Linked DNA regions of Homo sapiens: regions 2, 3 and 4 are each linked to region 1. Evidence: promoter capture Hi-C in 16 types of primary human blood cells and fetal thymus (Javierre and others, 2016). All regions are on one chromosome and are shown on one strand. Each heading gives the region's core, a stretch centred on a gene start or on the middle of the fragment in contact. The rest is flanking DNA. Distances are from core to core; before and after follow the strand shown.

Region 1 (4,896 bases), core at 809-3,308:
CCCATTTTTTTTCTCTCTCTCCACACAGAAAATCTGTGAATTTTCTGGGCTTGAACGGAAGGAATGAGGAGGGAAAGGAGGGAATATTTGACCTATCCAGGCAGCACTCAGAGCTGTAATTGACACCAAGTCATCCTAGTAGACCTTGTCCTCACAGGCTTAGAGGATATTTGATTCCAGAATCCCCCACCAGCACCCCAAGATCCAGTGGTACCTCCTTCCTCCTTGGGGCTTCTATAGTTTTCAAAAATGGGAGAAATCAAAAATGCCATCATTATTCCAGTGACCGGGTGTGGAGGGAGTCTGCAGTTTGGCCAGAGGCCTGGTCTCAGAGAAAGGAGTCCTGAGGGCTGGGGGGTTGGGGCAAGGCCTAGGGCCAACTTGGTTCTGACCTTGCCTGCCAGTAGAGAATCTTGGGCTCTTCACCAAGTAAAGGCAAGATCAAGGGACTGGAGGTCTGAGTCCCTCTCTTGCCTAACTGCCCCAAGGGCCCCAGAAACTACTCTGGGCCAAAAATCAGTAATAGTTGAAAGAAAGAAACAAATACTGAAAACACCCAGATTTATAATCTGCTTAGACACCCAAACTCATCCTTAAAGCAGTAAATAAAATTTATCTCCTTGACTGCCTTGCAACTTTCTACTCAGTTTGGCAATGTGTAGATGGGGTCAGCTTGAGTTTCAGAGCTTGGGGGTCCAGCACTAAATGTCTAGAGAGCTAGATCTGGGGCCTCTCACCCCCTTTCCTCATATACCTCCTCTTGCTTCCTTCCCCTCCCAGGGCTTCTCAGAAAGTGACAGCTGACTTCCTTTTAGAACTGTGAAATCCCACAATTTCAGAGGATTTCAAATTCCTTGAACTTCAGGTTGAGAGCTATTTGGATTAATCAGAGAAGTTTGTGTCTGGAAAATGATGCCAGATTTAGCCAGAAAACTGAAAGACCAAATGCTTTACTTTTTTTTTCCTTTGTCTGATCTCAGTGCTTATCAGGTCAACCTTCACCTTTAAAAACACCCTGGTGGCAGTATTTCTTTGCCATCACTGTCTGTAAAGCAAAGGGCAAGCATCTCAGGGCTTTTAGTTGGGCCGGGAATTCAAATGTCTCCTTTCTCAAGAAGATGCCAAAGTGGCCACCCTCAGCCCACTTTCCGTCCTTACCTCCTCTGCCCTTTCCCCAGCTGTAGTTATAGGAATAATGGCCTTTAACTTGCAGAGATCATTAAGGCCAAAGCCCTCACTCCTTCCCATCTCTCCTCTTGGGGCCGTCTGAGTCGCTTCCTCCACGACCCTCCTCTTTTGAAGCACTCCCTAGTACTGTTAAAGGCCGAATTTGGGCTGGAGCGAAGATGGGGGCTCAGTCCAAAATAACCTAGATATTAAGTAATAGTAATGATTTTTTTAAAAGGTAACTATGAACTCTCAAGCCTCGACCACCCAGTAAAGTTCCTCCTTAAATTGTTGCCGGCCCTGGGTGCAGACACGCAAGGACTGGCCAGAACGCGAGAAACTTCTTCAAGGAGAGAGAAGTCAGGGCCCAAATTCCTCATGCTTTAAAGCAGTATAAGAGGAGAGAGTCCAAATTTTTACTCGTTAAACCTCCTCTTACCTCTTCCTCAGGTCTGTTCACTCCTTGGTCCAGGGACCGGAGCTCCTGGGCTTCGAGGTGAACCAGAGGGAACGTGGCTCCCCGCAGCAACCTTTTTGCTTCAGGGCTCCTCCTGGGGGCTGAGTGGTCCCCTTTGCTTTGCTATTCCCGCTGCGGCTCCTGGGGGGACAGCTCCGTGGGACCAGGTCTCTCAGGGGGTGGAGGGTCGCCGAAGTCGTGACCAGGAGTTGGAGACCGCTGCGTCCCTCCGCTGCGGACCTGCCTGGGACTGCGTGGAATGGACCAAGTCCTCCGTCTAGGATTCCCTAGTGCTCGACGGCGCGCACTCCGCAGTGCTCCGCTGGAGATCTGCACCTGTGTCCCGGGGCTGGGCGCAGAGTGAAGATCTCCGTGCACGCTGCTGACCGGCTCGGCGACTGCCTCCCTGCTGTGAGCAGGAGAACAGGAAGTCTGCCCGACAGGGAGGTGGCCGGGCGGGAGCGGCAGAGTCGGCGTTGAGAGGAGGGTCAGCTGCACCTCGGGATTCCGCGCGCCTTCAACTCCCTCTTGCGGACAGCCCAGCCGCGGGTTGGCGCCGCAGTGATGGAACCTGGGGAGGGCCTAGCTTAGAGTCCCAGCAGTCCAGAGGAGGGGACCAGAGCAGAGGATTAGGAACGGGGCTTTCATATCCAGCCTAGGCGCCCAGAAGCGGCACTTAAGGGGCGAAGGGAGGCCGCAATTACAAAGGTGCGCCCTCCGACGCCTCAACGTCAAGGGCCTGTAGATTCACAACCTCCTCTGTCGGGGATGGGGGAAGATGAGGTGGGATAGGGAGGCTATGTCCAGCCACCAGCGCAGGGAGTGGCTCTAAACGCTGACCCAACGCCTCGCCCCAAGCGGGATCTTGGCGCGCAGATAGACCGAGCCCGTGGTGGGGCGCCATGCCGGGCTCCCTCGCCCTTACCGAGTGAGCATCTTCTTCCCAATTTGCTGCTCAGAGAGGGAGTGGGTCCTAGTCTCTGGATCTCAGCGCTCACGACTACCTCGCTGCTCCTAACGAACGGTTCATCTGCTCTCTCCTGGCCGCCTGCGCCAGCGCCGCTCACCCACTTTTCCAGCCCTGGATCTCCTCTCCCCGGATGCGTCCTTCCTTCCCACAATTAACAAATGATCTAGCGAAACCCCGCCAGGTCCCCGGCAGAGAAGCACCTCCATCCGCCCTAACCAACCAATTAATCAGATCATTAAGGAGCCTGAGGAGTTGTAATTGGGTGGTTTGGGACGAGGGGGCGCTGAGGAGGTCATTAACCTCCCCGTAAAGATGGGGAACGGAGACGCGCCTGGCCGCCTCTGCCGCCCCTGCCGCCCCTGCCGCCCCTGTGGGCTCTTCTTAGCACGCGGGTTTTGGCCACTCCACCTGCCTGCTGCGCTCCAGTTCCCGCCTCCAGTCCAGCTATTTCACTTCTCTCTTTGTCATTCTCCGTCTTTTCTCTGGCAACCGTCCAGGGCCCCTTTCTTTGTGCCTACTTCTGTCTACCTGTCCAGCTGCCTCTTGCACCCTTTCTGTGGCCCAGCGGCCAAGAAAACTCAAAGGTCATGGCTGTTGGCCCCCGCTGATGATCTCTGGGCTCCCGGGTCTCAGACAATTCCTCAGGGCTGGCTAGAAATGGTGGGAGCTGGAGATTTGGACACTATACCCATTCCCCAAGAGAAGGGCATTTGCAAAGGGGAAGTGTTTCCTGAAACGTTCAATTCTCTTTCGGTATGAGATAGCTTTGGACAAGGTGACAAATGGCGGAAGGTCCAGGCCCCAGTGGATAAAAGCTCCATATTAATTTAATTAGAGACACAGAGACCTTGCATACTCCTTGTCTGCACAGGCAAATATGGAGGAGGTAGTGATTGGGTGTTGTGGCCTGACTGGTCTCAGTCTAAGAGTCCCCAGCACCTGTGACCTGGTTCCTGGTGTTCCAAGAAGTCCAGGTGACAGTATCTGTTCAACCTTGTGGAACAATAAATTGTTTGTCCTTTTAATTTGTCTTGTCAGATCCCCAAGTATATTACAATGCCTCCCTCTGCATTACATTTTTGGTTGGTTGTGTAAGAATGGTGGATGAGAGGTTCTTAACATTTTGGGGCCACTCCCTGATATGATAATTTAAATTTTGATGAACAATATTGATTCCCCTCTACCCAGAAAAAAAATGTGCGTATGTAGTACTCACCAAATCCCACAATTTCAGAGAGTTTCAGACTCCTCAGACACCAAGTTAACAACTACAATTTGGATAGATCAAAGGAGCTGGTGTCTGGGAAATGCCGAGGCCAAATATAGTCAGTTTACGTAGGTCTTCACCCTTTCTCTTGGCTGACATCTCCATTTTGCCAGGCCAGCCTTCACCTGTAAAAACACTCCGGTGGCAGTGTCCTCTCCCCACCATTACCTGTAGGGTCTGGGCTCCCAGTGGGAGTCAGTCTTTCCTTCCCAGCAGCTGGGAGCCTGAGAACGTGGGAAGAGCTTTGCTGGGGAAAGCTGATCTTAGACTGGCCAGCAGTTGGACCAGCAATGGAAGGAAATCAGGCTTAAGCAGCTTCCCAGGGACTAAAAACCATACCAGAACTCCTGGAAGGGAAGACTATCTGGAAACAGCCTCCTAACTAAAGCTGCCTATAAGTCAAGCAAATGGGGACTGGGCAATAGAATGTTCCTTTGTGTCCCTTATTGACTCACTTATTCCATTTCCTCAGGGACCCAGCTCTACTTGGGGCTGATTTAGCCAAGGTTAGAGGCTGGGGAATACCAAATGCTGAACTTAAAGGGGAAGGATTTGCTCCCTAATATTTTAGTAATCTTGTTTGTAAGAGATAAACAGCATGTGACCCCTGACTATCCTGGGGGACCTCCTAATTACGCCCAGCCTCTTGTGTTGTGGCCTGTTTAGACACAGAGTGTAAAGAAGGACTTAGCTCTTCTTTCCCGGCCTATTAAGTTTCCTGGCCATCTCCCCACATGTGTGAATTGACCAAGCTAGATCTCCCAGGAGAAAAATCAGGCTTCTTTGGGGTCTGGGAAGTAAAAAGAAACTTCCTTTTTCAAGGACTATGTTAAGACAAATTAGGAGAACTGGAAATTATCTGGCTAATTGTACCCTCCCCCTCCATACATACTTACACTCCAAACCCAAGCCCTCCTGGCTGCTCCTCAATTGTCTATACATTTCAAACAAATGTGACTTGGCACAGGAAAGACTCCAACTCATTTCTAGTTGCCCCTCTCTGTGCTGCACAACCACCACCCACCTGCCCAGCAG
Region 2 (5,452 bases), core at 2,555-5,054, 630 kb after region 1:
GAGATGGCTGGAAAAGTCCAGAATTAATTTATCTTGGGGAAACAGGTAAGATAAAAACTTCTGGAATCGGCCGGGCGTGGTGGCTCACACCTGTAATCCCAGCACTTTGGGAGGCCGAGGTGGGCAGATCACGAGGTCAGAAGTTTGAGACAAGCCTGACCAACATGGTGAAACCCCGTCTCTACTAAAAATACAAAAATTAGCTGGGCATAGTGACGTGCGCCTCTGGTCCCAGCTACTCAGAGGCTGAGGCAGGAGAATCGCTTGAACCCGGGAGATGGAAGTTGCAGTGAGCCAAGATCGCACCACTGCACTCCAGCCCTGGGTGACAGAGCGAGACTCCATCTCAAACAAACAAACAAACAAAACTTCTGGGACCCAAAGTCCCCCAAAATCTCAGTGTTCTCCAGATGGCAGCAAGAAGAAGTAGCTCTCACAGGTTTGCCCAGAAGATGGTGCTGTAAGACAAGCCCCTCTTTCATCCTTAGCCTGGCCGGGATCAGTGACGGGACTATGAAAAGGCTTGCAGGAACCAGACCTAGAGGGCATCTCTACTCTCTATTGGGCAGGAGTTATCTCACAGTGCTGAGCATTGCAGTCCATTCCTAGATACTCCCTAGACCACAGAGGAGAACCTTGGGGGTTCCCACATCAGAGCTGTGAGCACCTCCATGGGAACACGAAGGTGAGAGACCCTGGGCACCTGGGACAGCAATTGTCCTGAGAAAACAGGGCCTCTGATCAAGAAACACTGTCAAGAAATACAGACCTGGCTGGGCATGGTGTCTCGCTCCTGTAATCCCAGCACTTTGGGAGGCCGAGGTGGGCAGATCACTTTAGGTCAGGAGTTCGAGACCAACATGGCCAACATGGTGAAACCCTGTTTCTACTAAAAATACAAAAATTAGCTGGGCATGGTGACACATGCCTGTAATCCCAGCTACTCGGGAGGGTGAGGCAGGAGAATTGCTTGAACCCAAGAGATGGAGGTTGCAGTGAGCCGAGACTGCGCCACTGCACTACAGCCTGGGTGATGGAGTGAGACTCTGTCTCAAACAAACAAACAGAAAACAAATACAGACCTTTTCCTCCAACTCTGGAGATTTGGACCCATTCCCCAAGGTAGCTGGGAGGTTGAGGAAGGGGTCTGAGGGGCTTGGGCACTGACTGAAGTTTATACTCTAAGGTAGAAAAAAAAAAGTGGATCTTTCTGGGAGAGCAAGCTAGAGGCCTTCAGATTAGGAAAGTGAAACTCAAAGGTTGACTTACCCAATGTCACACAGCTAACAAGGGACAGAACTGAGACAAGAAAGAGGGTTTCCTGGAACCCTCTTACCTCTTCCTCTTTCTGCCCTGTGTTTTCTGCAGATCATGAGAATATAACGTTTATAAATAGAATTCCCTTGACAAGGAGTGCCTTCCTGGGCAGTAAGAAAAAATAGCAGGGCTCTTGACTCAAAACCCCAATGCACATTTTTCTTTGCATGCTTTTTTTTTTTTTAACAGTCTCACTCTATCACCCAGGCTAGTGTACAGTGGCACAGTCTCTGCTCACTGCAACCTCCACCTCCCAGGTTCAAGTAATTCTCCTGCCTCAGCCTCTTGAGTAGCTGGGATTACAGGCACCTGCCACCATGCCTGGTTAATTTTTGTATTTTTAGTAGAGACGGGGTTTCACCATGTTGCCCAGGCTGGTCTCGAACTCCTGAGCTCAAGCAATCTGCCCACCTCGGCCTCCCAAAGTGCTGGGAGCCACCATGGCTGGCTCCAATAGCGTTTTCTAATTTTTATTTTATTTATTTATTTATTTATTTATTTATTTATTTATTTATTTATTGAGACAGAATCTTGCTCTGTCGCCCAGGCTGGAGTAAGTGGCGCCATCCTGACTCACTGCTGCATGTGCCTCCTGGGTTCAAGTGATTCTCGTGCTTCAACCTCCCAAGTAGCTGGGACTAGAGGCACACAACACCATGCCCAGCTAATTTTTGTATTTTTAGTAGAGACAGGGTTTCACCATATTGGCCAGGCTAGTCTCAAACTCCTGACCTCAAGTGATCCTCCCGCCTTGGCCTCCCAAAGTGCTGGGATTACCGACATAAGCCACCACGCCCAGCACGTCTGTTTTTTAAATAATGAAATTAATAAGTGAGTCCCATCAGCTGCACTTCTTTTCTGAGGATAATTTATATACAAGACACAGAAAAGCTTCTTGCACAATGTTCTTTTAATAGGATTTATGTAAACTCACATTTGTCAGGATCCGTAAAAGTATTCTATTTCTTTCACACATGTAATTTTTTTGTACCTCTATCTCAGTGAAGGAGGCAGGCGTTGTCATTCCCACTTGTGAGGTGATTGAGGATGCTCTCGGGTGCTGGGAGCAGAAGCAATGCGGCCTGAACCCAGGTATGGATTTCATTTTGAAGAAAGGTCTCCTTGTAGGGCACTATCCTGGACCCAGTGGGCCTGCCCTTCCTATTTATTTCTTAGTGAAACCAGAAAGTTTGCTGGGGCCAGTATGATGGAGCATCGTGACTGACAAATGGCTGGGATTAGTCTAATGGGTAGGCAGCTGTATATGGAGGAAGGCGATGAGGGATCAGACCATTTCCCCAGATTCCAGTGGAAACTTTGCAGGCAGTAGCTAAATGAGTCAGAGAAGATAAGAAGACTGGAGTACCTTGCAGAACACTTCCCATACCCTCCCACCTCCAGCCCCAAGGAGGATTAGGATGCAGGGAGTCTGCAGATGAAACAGTTGTTTACAAAGGCTGGAGAAGCATGCCAGGAAACTAGTCCAGGGGCAGTTTCCAGGGCCTGAGATTGATACTACTCCATCTTGAAAACTGAAAAAAAAAAAAAAAAAAAAAAAAAAAAAAGTGTGACTCTTTAGTTCTGTACTCCCTTTAGTTCTGGGAGTGCATTTGGAGTTTCCTTTAAATTCTATGTGGATACAGGATGCTGAAGGAGGAGAATCACTTGAACCCCAGAGTCAGAGGTTGCAGTGAGATGAGATGATGCCACTGCTCTCCAGCCTGGGCGACAGAGTAAGACTGTTTCAAAAATAAAACAAAAGGCCAGGCGTGGTGGCTCACGCCTATAATCCCAGCACTTTGTGACTCCATCTCAAAAAAAAAATAATAAATAAATAAAATAAAATAAATTGTATGTGGATAAATTGAGGAGAGCTAAGGTGCAACACATGAGAAAGAGACAAGGGGTGGGGGTGGGCACAGTGGCTCACGCCTGTAATCCCACCACTTTGGGAGGCCAAGGCAGGTGGATCACCTGCGGTCAGGAGTTCACCAGCCTGGCCAACATGGTGAAACCTTGTCTCTACTAAAAATACAAAAATTAGCTAGGCATGGTGGCACACGCCTGTAGTCCCAGCTACTCCGGAGGCGGAGGCAGGATTGTTGCTTGAGCCCATGAGGCAGAGGTTGTAGCGAGCCGAGATCACGCCACTACACTCCAGCCTGGGCGACACAGTGAAACTCCAACTCAAAAAGAAAAAAAAAAGGGGGCGGGCGTGGGTGCTGGGAAGGCAAGAAGGAAATAGCAGAGGAGAGACAAGGGAACTCCTGGCTTGGGAAGGCTCTTGCCTGTCCCACCTCATGCAAGCATAAGCACTCCTGCCAAGACGGGGGCCCTCCGGAGGATGTCCAACTTAAAGCTCAGATCCTGGGCAGCAGCAATGGGGAGGGGATTGGGGTATCCCAGGGCAGATGGCCTTAAGGGACCTATTTGTAGAGGCAGAGGCCCAGAGGCTGTCATATGCAAGCTGCTTAGGGTCACAAGAGAAATCCGGAGCTTCCCTGATGACCATCTTTCTTCTCCTCCTCTTTCTGACTCTCTTCTTCCTTCCACTCTCCCTAAACCTGCTGAATCCCTTAGGCAGCTGGGATCAACATAAGCTAGAAACTGATGCGTATACAAGGGAAATCGGGAAGCCTAGAAACAGCAGAACCTGGGAGGGGTACCTGTGTACAGGGCAAATGAAGGGAGCCTGAAAACAGCTGAATCTGGGGAGATGGAACTGCCTAGTGAGAGAGCAAGGGGCTTCTGGAAACTGCTGAATCCAGGGAGGCCAATTTGTATACCGGGGAAATATGGGGGAACCTAGAAACAGCAGGATCTGGGGAGACAGTCGTGTACAGGGGGCAGACAGAGGGAGTAGCCTGAAAACAGTTGAATCTGGGGAGGAAGATTCGTGTGCAGAGGGAACAAGGGGAGACTGGAAACAGCACAATCTGGGGAGATAGGATAGTGTACAGTAGAAGCTAGGGTGGCCTGGAAACTGGGGCTCTCAGGGGATGAATCTGCTTTAAATTGCACGGGGGGGTGAGGGAGCCTGGGGAATCTGATGTGGCAGGCGCGAGCAGGGACACGGGCAAGCACAGGGGTGGAGTCAGGGTGCTGGTTGCATGGAAGGGGAACGCAATGGAACTCCCTGCCTTGTAGGTTTGAGTTAGACCCCTTGGCAGCCTCTTCTTGCAGACAGGGCAGGGTAAGGGAGTAGCTCTCCAATGGGGAGCCAGGATTTCACACGGCAAGAAGAGAAGGGCCTTTGTGTGCAGTTGCTGCCCTGGTCCTAAAATGAGCAAAGCCTGGAATTCCCTAGGGGAAACAGCCCAGGAGTTGGAGTGGGAGAGGATGAGGAGGTTGAAGGAGCTTCGGTCCCCTTGCCTGCCTTCTTCCCAACCCCTCTCTGACAGGGATAGGCCTCTTTCTCCCTTTCTACCGACCAGCCTGACCTCTCCCTTCAGCAGTTCCCTTCTGAGTGACAGACAGACAAAGACAGAGCTGTAGACCATTGACTGAAGGAGGCCCCACAAAAGTTCTCTCCCAACCCACCATCCCCCCATACCCTCCCCAGAGGCCCTGAGCCAGCCAGGGCCAACAGGAGCTGTCACTCTAGTGGAGCTGCCTTCAGGTAGGTGACAGGCCTTCAGGAGGCAGGGTGACTAGGGGCTGGGAAAGGCCTGAGATTTTTGGGATTCTGTCTGTGCCTCTTGGAAACCAGAGTTTCCCAGCCGGTTGCCTCTGAGAGAGGACTTGGAAACCAGAGTTTCCCAGCTGGTTGCCTCTGAGAGAGGAAAGAGGGCAGAACAGTGGCCACTATTGCAGAAATAAAAACCTGGTTCCACTATTTCTAGCTGTGGGATCTTGGCCAGTTGTCATTCCTCTCTGGATTTCAGTTTTTTCATCTGTAAAATGAAGGATCGGTCCAGATCTCTAAAGGCCCTTGCAGCTCTAGCATGAGGATTCTTAGTAGCCTCGGAGAGAGAGCTCAGCCTGGCATTTCTTCTTATTTGCTAATACGGCTCAGAACTTTCCGGCGAACATTGGAAGGAGGCTGGCATTTGGGATGTTGTGAGAGTGTTTAAGCAAGCTTTCCCTGGCATTGGTAACACTTCTGGAACATGAGTGTTTCTACTTTTCGTCACTC
Region 3 (4,916 bases), core at 1,297-3,796, 560 kb after region 1:
AACAGCTGGAAAACTAGTTACTGACCAGAAAAAGCTAAAAATTAAGTAGGACTGGATTTAGGAAGAGCCAAGAAGGTACAACAAACCAGTTTGTGTCACAGGATTCTGGAAAGGCCACTAGGTACCCCTGACAATAGGGGTGCAGGTGGAATTTACAAAGTGGTAATTGACCAGGCATGATGGCTTACACATGTAATCCCAGCACTTTGGGAGGCTGAGGCGGGAGGATCACTGGAGTCCAGGAGTTCAAGAACAGCCTGGGTGACATAGTGAAACCCTGTCTTTAAAAAATAAATAAATAAATAAAAATTAGGCCAGGTGCAGTGGCTCATTCCTGTAATCCCAGCACTTTGGGAGGCTGAGGCAGGCAGATCACCTGAGGTTGGGAGTTCAAGACCAGCCTGACCAACATGGAGAAACTCTGTCTCTACTAAAGATACAAAATTAGCTGGGCATGGTGGTGCATGCCAATAATCCCAGCTACTTGGGAGGCTGAGGCAGGAGAATCGCTTGAACCTGGGAAGCCGAGGTGGTGGTGAGCTGAGATCGCGTTGTTGCACTCCAGCCTGGGTGACAAGAGCGAAATTCCGTCTCAAAAAAAAAAAAAAAAGATAATTGTGTCATTAAAAAAAAATAAAATTACCTGGCACAGTGGCTTACGCCTGTAATCCCAGCACTTTGGGAGGCTGAGGTGGGCGGATTACTTGAGGTCAAGCGTTTGAGACCAGCCTGGCCAACATGGTGAAACCACGTCTTTACTAAAAATACAAAAAAATTAGCCAGGAGTGGTGGTGTGCATCTGTAGTCCCAGCTACTCGGGAGGCTAAGGAAGAGGATCATTTGAACCTGGGAGGTGGAGGTTGCAGTGAACTGATATTGCGTCACTGCACTCCAGCCTGGGCGACAGAGACTCCATCTCAAAAAAATAAATAAAATTATAGATCATTTTTCCTTTTTTTTTTTTTTTTTTTTTTTTGAGATGGAGTCTCGCTCTGTCCCCCAGGCTGGAGTGCAGTGGCATGATCTCGGCTCACTGCAAGCTCCGCTACCCGAGTTCACGCCATTCTCCTGCCTCAGCCTCCCGAGTGGCTGGGATTACAGGTGCCCGCCATCACACCCAGCTAATTTTTTGTATTTTTAGTAGAGATGGGGTTTCACCGTGTTAGCCAGGATGGGCTCGATCTCCTGACCTCGTGATCTGCCCACCTCAGCCTCCCAAAGTGCTGGGATTACAGGTGTGAGCCACCACGCCCAGCCTCTTTATCATTTTTTTAAAGACAGTCTTGCTTCCTCACCCAGGCTGGAGTGCAGTGGCACAATCACAGCTCACAGCAGCCTCAACCTCCTGTGCTTAAGCGATCCTCCCAGCACACCCAGCTGATTATTTTTTGTAGAGATGGGGTCTCACTACGTTGCCCAGGCTGGTCTCAAACTCCTGGGCTCAAGCAGTCCTTCTGCCTAGGCCTTCCAAAGTGCTGGAATTACAGGTGTGTGCTGCCGAGCCCTGACCTCTCTACTGATTTTGACAAATAGCTTTCTTGAAACCCTAGAGAACTAATTGTAAACAAAAAAACACGTTGGGAAGGCTGGCTGGGAATCTCCAGTAATACAGTATCTCTGGATGTAGATGCTCTGGGATGAGCCAGTAAAGAAAGCTCAGGAAGAAGCGGGGATCTGTTTTCTATATTCTTCTTATTTGAGTTGCTCTTAAGACAGTACTTAAAAAGTAAGGAAAGGGCCAGGCTCAGTGGCTTAGGCCTGTAATCCCAGCACTTTGGGAGGCCGAGGCAGGCAGATCACCTGAGGTCAGGAGTTCGAGACCAGCCTGGCCAACATGGTGAAATCTTGTCTCTACTAAGAGTATTAAAAAAATTAGCTGGGCATGGTGGTGAGCGCCTGTAATCCTAGCTCTTTGAGAGGCTGAGACAGGAGAATCGCTTGAACTCAGGAGGTGAAGGTTGCAGTGAGCTGAGAGTGCTCCATTGCACTCCAGCCTGGGCGACAAGAGCGAAACTCTGTCTCAAAAAATAAAAGTGAGTAAAGATCGAAGTCATGAGAATGCTTTACTTTAGATTTCCCCATTTGGGCGCTTTCTTTACCTAACAATTATGCCATTCTATGACTGTTCCTCTCTGAGGCCATGCTAATTAATGATAAAGGGAGGATAAGCTTGCAGTAGGTAGAGATCAGTTAGAAGCTATGCTGACCCTTTCGGCTCATAGCAGAAGGATCAGGTGGATAATAGTCAGTGCTGTTTTATTTTTTGGCCAGATCTCATGCCAGTAATCCCAGCACTTTGGGAGGTCAAGGCAGGTGGATCGCTTGAGCCCAGGGGTTCAAGACCAGCATTGGCAACATGGCAAAAACCCTTCTCTACCGAAAATACAAAAATTAGGCAGTCTCATAACCTGGTCTCTAAATAAGCAAATAAATAGATTAAACTTTTCAAAAAGAAATGCTATTTATTTTTCTAAGACAAATTTTATATATATATATATATATATATATATATATATATATATATATTTTTTTTTTTTTTTTTTTTTTTTTTTTTTTTTGAGATGGAGTCTCGCTCTGTCACCAGGCTGGAGTGCAGTGGCGCGATCTCGGCTCACTGCAACCTCCGCCTCCCGGGTTCAAGCAATTCTCCTGCCTCAGCCTCCCGAGTAGCTGGCACTACAGGCGAGCGCCACCATACCCAGCTAATTTTTATACTTTTAGTAGAGATGGGGTTTCGCCATATTGGCCAAGCTGGTCTCGAACTCCTGACCTTGTGATCTGCCTGCCTCAGTCTCCCAAAGTGCTGGGATTACAGGCGTGAACCACCGCACCCAGCCTTGTAGATGGACTCTAAGTGCATTCTGTCTATACATGCCAGTTTTACAGTGTTTAGAAAACTTAATGATTACACTAAGTAAGCTTCCTTTCCTAAGGATGCTAGGAATAACCAGTTTAACCTCAAATTGGTATTATTTTAAACTCAAGCGGAGACGTAACTCTTCCTTGTCTTGGATTACCTGCCATCCAGGTAATTCTTTGGCCAGTTTTGTTGATCAATTTTGTTTCATTGATACAGTGCCATCTACTGACAAAAATTGGTAATCATAAGGCTTTAAGTCTGTCAGAAGTCAAAGAGTTGGGTCCGGGCACGGTAGCTCATGCCTGTTAATTCCAGAGTTTTGGGAAACCAAAACGGGCAGATCACTTGAGGTCAGGAGTTCGAGACCAGCCTGGCCAACATGCTGAAACCCCATCTCTACTAAATATACAAAAATCAACTGGGCCTGGTGGCAGGTGCCTGTAGTCCTAGCTACTCAGGAGGCTGAGGCATGAGAATCACTTGAACCCTAGAGGCGTAGGTGAGCCGAGATAGCACCATTGCACTGCAGCCTGGGCGACAGAGGGAGACTGTGTCCCCCTCCCCCAAAAAAGTCAAATTTGGATGAAGGACTAAATAAAATAGATTTATAAGGGACTAAAATTTCAACACTGGAAAAACCCTTAGATGTTACCTAGCTTGATGATGTATTTTATAAAGGAGTAAACTCAGATTCTATTATCTTTGATAACTACAGTTCTGTTTTCCCCACACTTGTTTTCCAAATTTTTACAGGGTTCCAGTTTAGAGAATTTCATGATCATTCTGGCATTTTTATGACTCTTCCTTAGTTTTTAGAAATAAATTGGAGGCCAGGTGTGATGGCTTATGTCTGTAATCCCAGTAGGAGGCTGAGGTGGGAGGATCACTTGAGCCTGGGAGTTTGAAACAAGCCTGGGCAACATATTGAGAACTTGTCTCTACTAAAAATTTAAAAAATTAGCCAGGCATGGTGGCGCACACCTGTGGTTCCAGCTACTCAGGAGACTGAGGCAGCGGGATCACTTGAGCCCAGGAGGTCAAAGCTGCAATGAGCCATAATTACTTCACTGCATTCCATCCTAGGTGATAGAGTGAGACACTGTCTCAAAAAAGAAAAAAAGTTGTAAAATAAACTAAATACAATAAGTTAACAAGAAATTTGTGAATCGTAAGTTCAATTCAGAAAAGACTGCATAAAGAACAAGAGAACATGGCTGGGCACAGTGGCTCATGCCTGTAATCCCAGCACTTTGGGAGGCCATGGCGGGTGGATCACTTGAGGTCAGGAGTTCGAGACCAGCTTGGCCAACATGGCGAATCCCTGTCTCTACTAAAAAAACAAAAACTAGCTGGGCATGGTGGCACACACCTGTAGTCCCAGCTACTCAGGAGGCTGAGGCAAAAGAATCACTTGAACCCAGGTGGCGGAGGTTGCAGTGAGCCAAGACTGTGCCACTGCACTCCAGCCCGGCTGGAGTGAGACTCCATCTCAAAGAGGGGGAGGTGCGGGGCCGGGGCTGGAGCTGGGTTCGGTGGCTCACGCCTGTAATCCCAGCACTTTGGGAGGCCAGCACGGGTGAATCACGAAGTCACGAGTTTGAGACCAGCCTGGCAGCTTGACCAACGTTGGTGAAACCCTGTCTCTGCTAAAAATACAAAAATTAGCCGGGCGTGGTAGCTCACACCTGTAGTCCCAGCTACTCAGGAGGCTGAGACAGGAGAATCACTTGAACCCGGGAGGCAGAGGTTGCAGTGAGCCGAGATTGTGCCACTGCACTCCAGCCTGGGCTGGAGTGAGACTCCGTCTCAAAAAAAAAAAAAAAAAAAAAAGTCCAGGCACGGTGGCTCACGCTTGTAATCCCAGCACTTTGGAAAGCCAAGGCAGGCAAATCACGAGGTCAGGAGTTGAAGACCAGCCTGGCCAACGTGGTTAAACCCCGTCTCTTCTAAAAATATAGAAATTAGCCAGGCGTAATGGCGGGCACCTGTAAAACCAACTACTCGGGAGGTGGAGGCAGGAGAATCGCTTGAACCCGGGAGGCAGAGGTTGCAGTAA
Region 4 (5,002 bases), core at 1,783-4,282, 680 kb after region 1:
AGTGCAATGGTGCAGTCTCGCCTCACTGCAACCTCCGCCTCCCAGGTTCAAGTGATTCTCCTGCCTCAGCCTCCCAAGTAGCTGGGATTACAGGCATGCATCAAAATGCCTAGCTAATTTTGTATTTTTAGTAGAGATGGGGTTTCTCCATGTTGGACAGACTGGTCTCAAACTTCCGACCTCAGGTGATCTGCCTGCCTCAGTCTCCCAAAGTGCTGGGATTACAGGTGTGAGCCACTGTGCCTGGCCAAAGGTGAAAATTTTTATAAAGCAATAAAGTGGCCTGTACGTGAGGAGTTATATTCGTAGCTCACAGCCTTATCTCAAACTTTCCTCCCAGCCCTGCTCCTCCCAGAAATAAATGCCCTGAAGGCCAGGGGTTGTGCCTGACTTCCCAGGCTGGCCCCTCCCTGGTAATGCGCTAGGTCCTCACACCTGCACCTGGGACTGGTGGCACTTGGGAAGGGAGAGCCACAGGTAGGCCTGCCACGGCACTTATGGGGGCTCCTTCTCCAGTGTGGAGCCAAGAGAACAGGAATCTGCTCCCCTGGGCTCAGACATCAGAGAGGCTGGATCTCCGAGGCATGGGGAATTAGTACCTCCAGGGCAAGCCCTTCCTTCTATGGATGGGGAACGGGGAACTGACTCTGAGTTACCATCCCCCAGACCAAAGCCCATCCCACTAGCCTTCTGGTCTCTTCCCAACACCTGAGCTGGAAGGAGTTTTTGTCTTCTGAACCAGATATCCACTCTGAGTAGACGAGGCTTTTATAGAAAGTGACAGATCTAGGAGGCTGTGGGCACCTTTCTGGGACAGCTGTGTGTACTTTGCACTAGAGGTAGGGGACCTTACAAAATTATATCCTTCAATTCAAATCACCCCCCAGGGAGATGATAGCATGACAGCAAGCCAGCTGTGGCTGGAACCACAAGAAGGCAAATAAATGGGTTTTCTTGCACATTTACCTGCCCCAGGGAGAGTGGGACAAAGCAATTGGCTACATTAACAGTTTCTTTGGGTAAAAACAATGTTTCTGTTTCTCATTTGTGTTTTCGAGCTTGCATAAGTACCTACTGTATGTCTGGTCTGGATCAGTGATACATAATTCTGGGCTCTAAGAGCTAAAAGTCTGTAAGTGGAAACCAATCATGGTATATATATCATGTTAAATAGAAGTATATGAGCAGGTTCTATGGGAACACAGAAGGGGAAACAAGAAAACTCCTGGCGGGGTGGGAGGTGTGATCATTAATTCAGGTTCTGAGGGATGAAAAGAAGTTTCTCTTGGGTCGCACAGGTGATGGGGGGGACATTGTTACCCAAGAGCACAGCCAGCACTCCTAATCTCACCCTTCTAAGGCAGCCTCATGCCTACAAAGGCAGGCAGAGAAGAGCCTAGTGTTCAGGGAGAGTTGGCAGGGGTGGGTGTGCATGAGAGGAGGCTGCAGAGGCCCCATCCTAGGAGAGCCAGGCCAAGCGGGTTCTGCTGTGGGCTGTGGGGAGGCTTTGGAGGACTGTCCACCCAAGGACATTTTAAGGGAAGGGGGGCTATTTCAGATGGAGGAGAATACAAACCCAAGAGGCCATCAGAAGCTGGAGCGAGTAGAAGCAGGATTGGAAATGGGGGACAGCTTTAAGAGTTGGTGAGCTGGGATTTCAAATGTAACTTAGAGGGAGAGCCAGGGAAAGGGGGGATTTTATGCCTTTTCTCTACCCCGTGCCTCACCCTTTGCCTGACACGCACACCTGGTCCATGGAGGAAGGTAGCTGGTGGGTGGATTGGGCACCTAAGCTGGTAGCACTGGGCCCAGGAAGTGGCAGAGACACTGAGTATGTAGCAGATGTTTTCCACTCTCCAGCGATGCCCATCCGAGGGGAGAGAGAATGCAAGCGCAAATAGGACAGGCCACCTCCGGGTGGCTGCAAAACAACGCTCCCCAGACACGGAGCCATCTGCAAGAGCAGCCCTGGCTGAGCGCTGCACACAGCTTGGCCAATGGTGGGTTTGCAGGGGCAATGAGACTGCAGATCGGTGAGGACGAAGGCCCCTGTGCACACACACTCTACCCCTGTCCCCAACCGTGTGCCCATCCCCTGCCTTCTTGCCCTTCCTTCTCTTCCAGACTCACTAGGGACCCATCTCTCCTTTCCTTGAGAACTTGCTCCAGGTTTTGCCAACTTTATAATACCCAGGAAGGCCCTTTCAATAGACTGCTGGACATCTGGGAGGAGTTGAAGCCAGTGGCACTTTGCTAGTGGGGACACTGGCACAGGTCTCTTTGAGAGTCTGATAAAAGTATAATCTATGCAGAAAAAGCAATGCCCCTCTGCCCACAAACACGGAATTCTGCATAAGATCTCAAGGGCCTTGAAGCCCACCTCCAAGCAAAGTGGGAGAGGGATGACAATGTTTGAGGTTGTGGTGGGTCTGGAGAGCCTGGCCCGAGGAGAGGCTGTGCCCTTTTTTTTTTTCTCCCTAGGGAGATTTTTGAAGAGGGGCTCTTCAGGTCAGGAGGAAGCCACAGCCCCCAACCCAGTCCCCACTTTGAGGCTTGAGGCAGGGGAGGGACAGCCTGGGAACCGGTCTGCCAACCAGTTTAACCGGGACTGGTTTCGACTCAGGGAGTTCAAAGGAAGCTGGGGTGCACCCCGTCCTACCCAGCCTGCCAATGGAAGCAGCAGCCCTTAACTCTTTCCTGGTTGTGCCCTGGGCAACATCCAGGTGGTGGTCCATGCTGGAGAGGGGTCTGCGCCTCCTCAGAAGATGAAATGGGTGGGGTGACCCTGGCTATAGCTGGGAAGTGCAACCAGACACCCAAGAGTGGGGAAACTGAGCGAGAGCCTCCTGTGCTCCCTGACCCCAGATCTCCCTTGGGATTCCCTCCTCCTGCGTGGCGGTCCCTGGAGAACCCTGGCTTCTGGGTGGATGCAGGGGCGCTGGGATTGGATTTCTGGCATGATGAATATTCATCAGCTTGAGCCGGCCTCTGCTTCTGTTTACTTAGCCGGGAGGGGCTGGGTTTCAGGTTCACCTTGACTCCAGGAGCTGCAGCAGAGCAGGTAACAGCTCTTGCACCTGTTTCTCTTGCACCTGACGTGCAGCTGCTCCTACCCACCTCTCCTGGCTGAGCCTTGCCTGATACAGCAGCCCGGAGGCACCACTTGCTTCCCGAGTCTCACCCTCCCAGGCAGCTCCTACACTCAACTGCTTCTCTAGGAAAGGTCTCACCTCCAGCCTGGAGCAGTCGGGATTACAGGTACAGGCAGAGGGCTGGTGGGTGGGGAAACCAAGGCATAGACCCCAGTCAGAGCACCTGGTTCTGCCTCCAGGGCTGACAAGCCCAGCAGGAAAGAGGAACCCAGGCCTCTAACCTGGTCTCCACTCAAGACTCATCCCACTGGCCTCTTGGAGTCAATCCAGGCCTCCAACAGAGCTCCTGCTGAGTAGTTTTCTGTTAACCCTTGCTGAACTGGAGCCCACCCTTCTGACCCCCCAGTCTGGAGCATTTTTCCAGCTGTCTGGTAGGAACATCTCCCCATTCCTATCCAGGGTACCCCTGTCTCATCCTGCAGGCCCCCTAAGTGCCATTGGGGCCCTGCAGAGGGATGGGGGAGGGAGTTCTGGGGTTTTGTCTTACAACATATTAGCTGACTTGCTTCCCCTATCTGTCCCCCTGCCCCTCCACCTCTGCCCCAGTCAATGGTTAACTTGACCCAGCTCAGGAGGGGCCTGGCTCAGTCTGGGCAAAGCCCTTCAGAGCAGCTCACAGAACCCAGCTGGTATGGAGGGGCCTCTCCTGGGACACCCATGTGCATGCTATAGCGCTGGCCACCAAAGACAGGGGGTGGCAGGCTGTCCCATGAGGCCTTTCATGGCCCCAAAGCTGTGCAAACAGCAGAGGTGAAGCTGGCATCCTCAGGGGCTGATTTCCATCATCCCTGGATTGCAAGGCCCCAGGGCAAGGGCCCAGCCCTTAGCTCGGCCAGCTCAGGAACCTGCACGAGCTAACTGCAGGGCCCACCATGTGTCACTAAATGCTGGGTCTGTTTGAAGTCCCAAGCACCTGCCCCCACTCCCCCAACCCCTTTCAGCCCTCTGTGGTGAGGCACAGGCAGGCGGTTGTAGATATCTTGTTCTTTGCAACTTTGAGAAACTGGGAAGTTTGGATATCACATCACCTTTTTTGTTTGCTTGTTTTTAAAGCAAATCAGATTTTACACTATCTTTTATGATGACTATTTACAGATCCTACAGCTGGGTTATTTTGTAAAACAAAGAATAGTCGGCTAATTTTTCCATTTTGCAAACTCAGATTTCCATAAGTCAGGCTTGCTAATGGGGCAAACACCTGCTTACTGGTCCCCACATGTCCTCCTGGGCAGAAGAGACAGGAAGGCCTGGCAAAAAGGGTATTCTCTTTTTTTGTTGTTGTTGTTTTTTGAGAAAAGAGTCTCACTGTGTCGCCCAGGCTGGAATGCAGTGGCATGATCTCAGCTCACTGCAACCTCTGCCTCCTGGGTTCAAGGGATTCTCGTGCCTCAGCCTCCCGAGTAGCTGGGACTACAGGCATATGACACAACATCCGCCTAATTTTTTGTGTTTTTGTGTTTTTAGTAGAGATGGGGTTCCCCCATGTTGGTCAGGCTGGTCTTGAACTCCTGGCCTCAAGCAATCCTCCTGCCTCAGCCTCCCAAAGTGCTGGGATTATAGTTTGAGCCACTGCACCTGGCCTCTGGCAGAGTATTCTAGAGAGACCAGAGTACAAGGCTAGGATGCAAGGGCACCAGAGTTGATGCCTTGGTGGAGGCCCCAGGGCAGGGCACAAGGGCTGTTCCCATCTCTACAGTTTGCTGAGAAGTTCCTCGTGATCTGTGGCTCCCTTTATGCCAAGGAGAGTTAAGCCCCAGGTTTGCCAACTTGAAATACCTGTTAAAACAGGTGAATTTTAATGGCACAGGCAGAAGCCCTTTTCTCTCTGGAGCTAGAAAATCTGGTGGTTA

The links. Contacts are between HindIII fragments. The CHiCAGO score rates a contact against its expected background, and 5 or more counts as called.
Region 2: a fragment that was not itself captured here is called in contact with the fragment with the promoter of LINC02086 in region 1 in 6 of 17 cell types (naive CD4 T cells, neutrophils, total CD4 T cells and 3 more); the score reaches 8.5 in naive CD4 T cells.
Region 3: a contact is called between a fragment that was not itself captured here and the fragment with the promoter of LINC02086 in region 1, in 1 of 17 cell types (total CD4 T cells). The highest score is 6.4, in total CD4 T cells.
Region 4: the fragment with the promoter of PRR15L here is called in contact with the fragment with the promoter of LINC02086 in region 1 in 1 of 17 cell types (neutrophils); the score reaches 5.5 in neutrophils.

Annotation. Positions count from the first base shown.
Region 1 is chr17:48,639,789-48,644,684 of GRCh38, reverse strand. It overlaps LINC02086 (long intergenic non-protein coding RNA 2086), which reads right to left and starts at 2,058. Exons shown (of 8, transcript NR_189645.1): 1 at 1-2,058. The region is part of intron 1 of LINC03057 (long intergenic non-protein coding RNA 3057); the gene reads left to right. RefSeq lists enhancers at 1,464-2,460, 2,461-3,459. The HindIII fragment of the contact is 12,737 bases long and covers 1-4,896 here.
Region 2 is chr17:48,013,531-48,018,982 of GRCh38, reverse strand. No RefSeq gene overlaps it. Among named protein-coding and RNA genes, the nearest start is that of MIR10226, 17 kb to the left of the region's middle. RefSeq lists enhancers at 1,180-1,279, 2,957-3,456, 3,457-3,958. The HindIII fragment of the contact is 3,187 bases long and covers 2,211-5,397 here.
Region 3 is chr17:48,078,562-48,083,477 of GRCh38, reverse strand. All of the region lies in intron 1 of CBX1 (chromobox 1), which reads left to right. Among named protein-coding and RNA genes, the nearest start is that of CBX1, 20 kb to the left of the region's middle. The HindIII fragment of the contact is 750 bases long and covers 2,172-2,921 here.
Region 4 is chr17:47,955,913-47,960,914 of GRCh38, reverse strand. PRR15L (proline rich 15 like) reads left to right here and starts at 3,032. Exons shown (of 2, transcript NM_024320.4): 1 at 3,032-3,258. RefSeq lists enhancers at 2,473-3,418, 3,419-4,364. The HindIII fragment of the contact is 8,015 bases long and covers 1-5,002 here.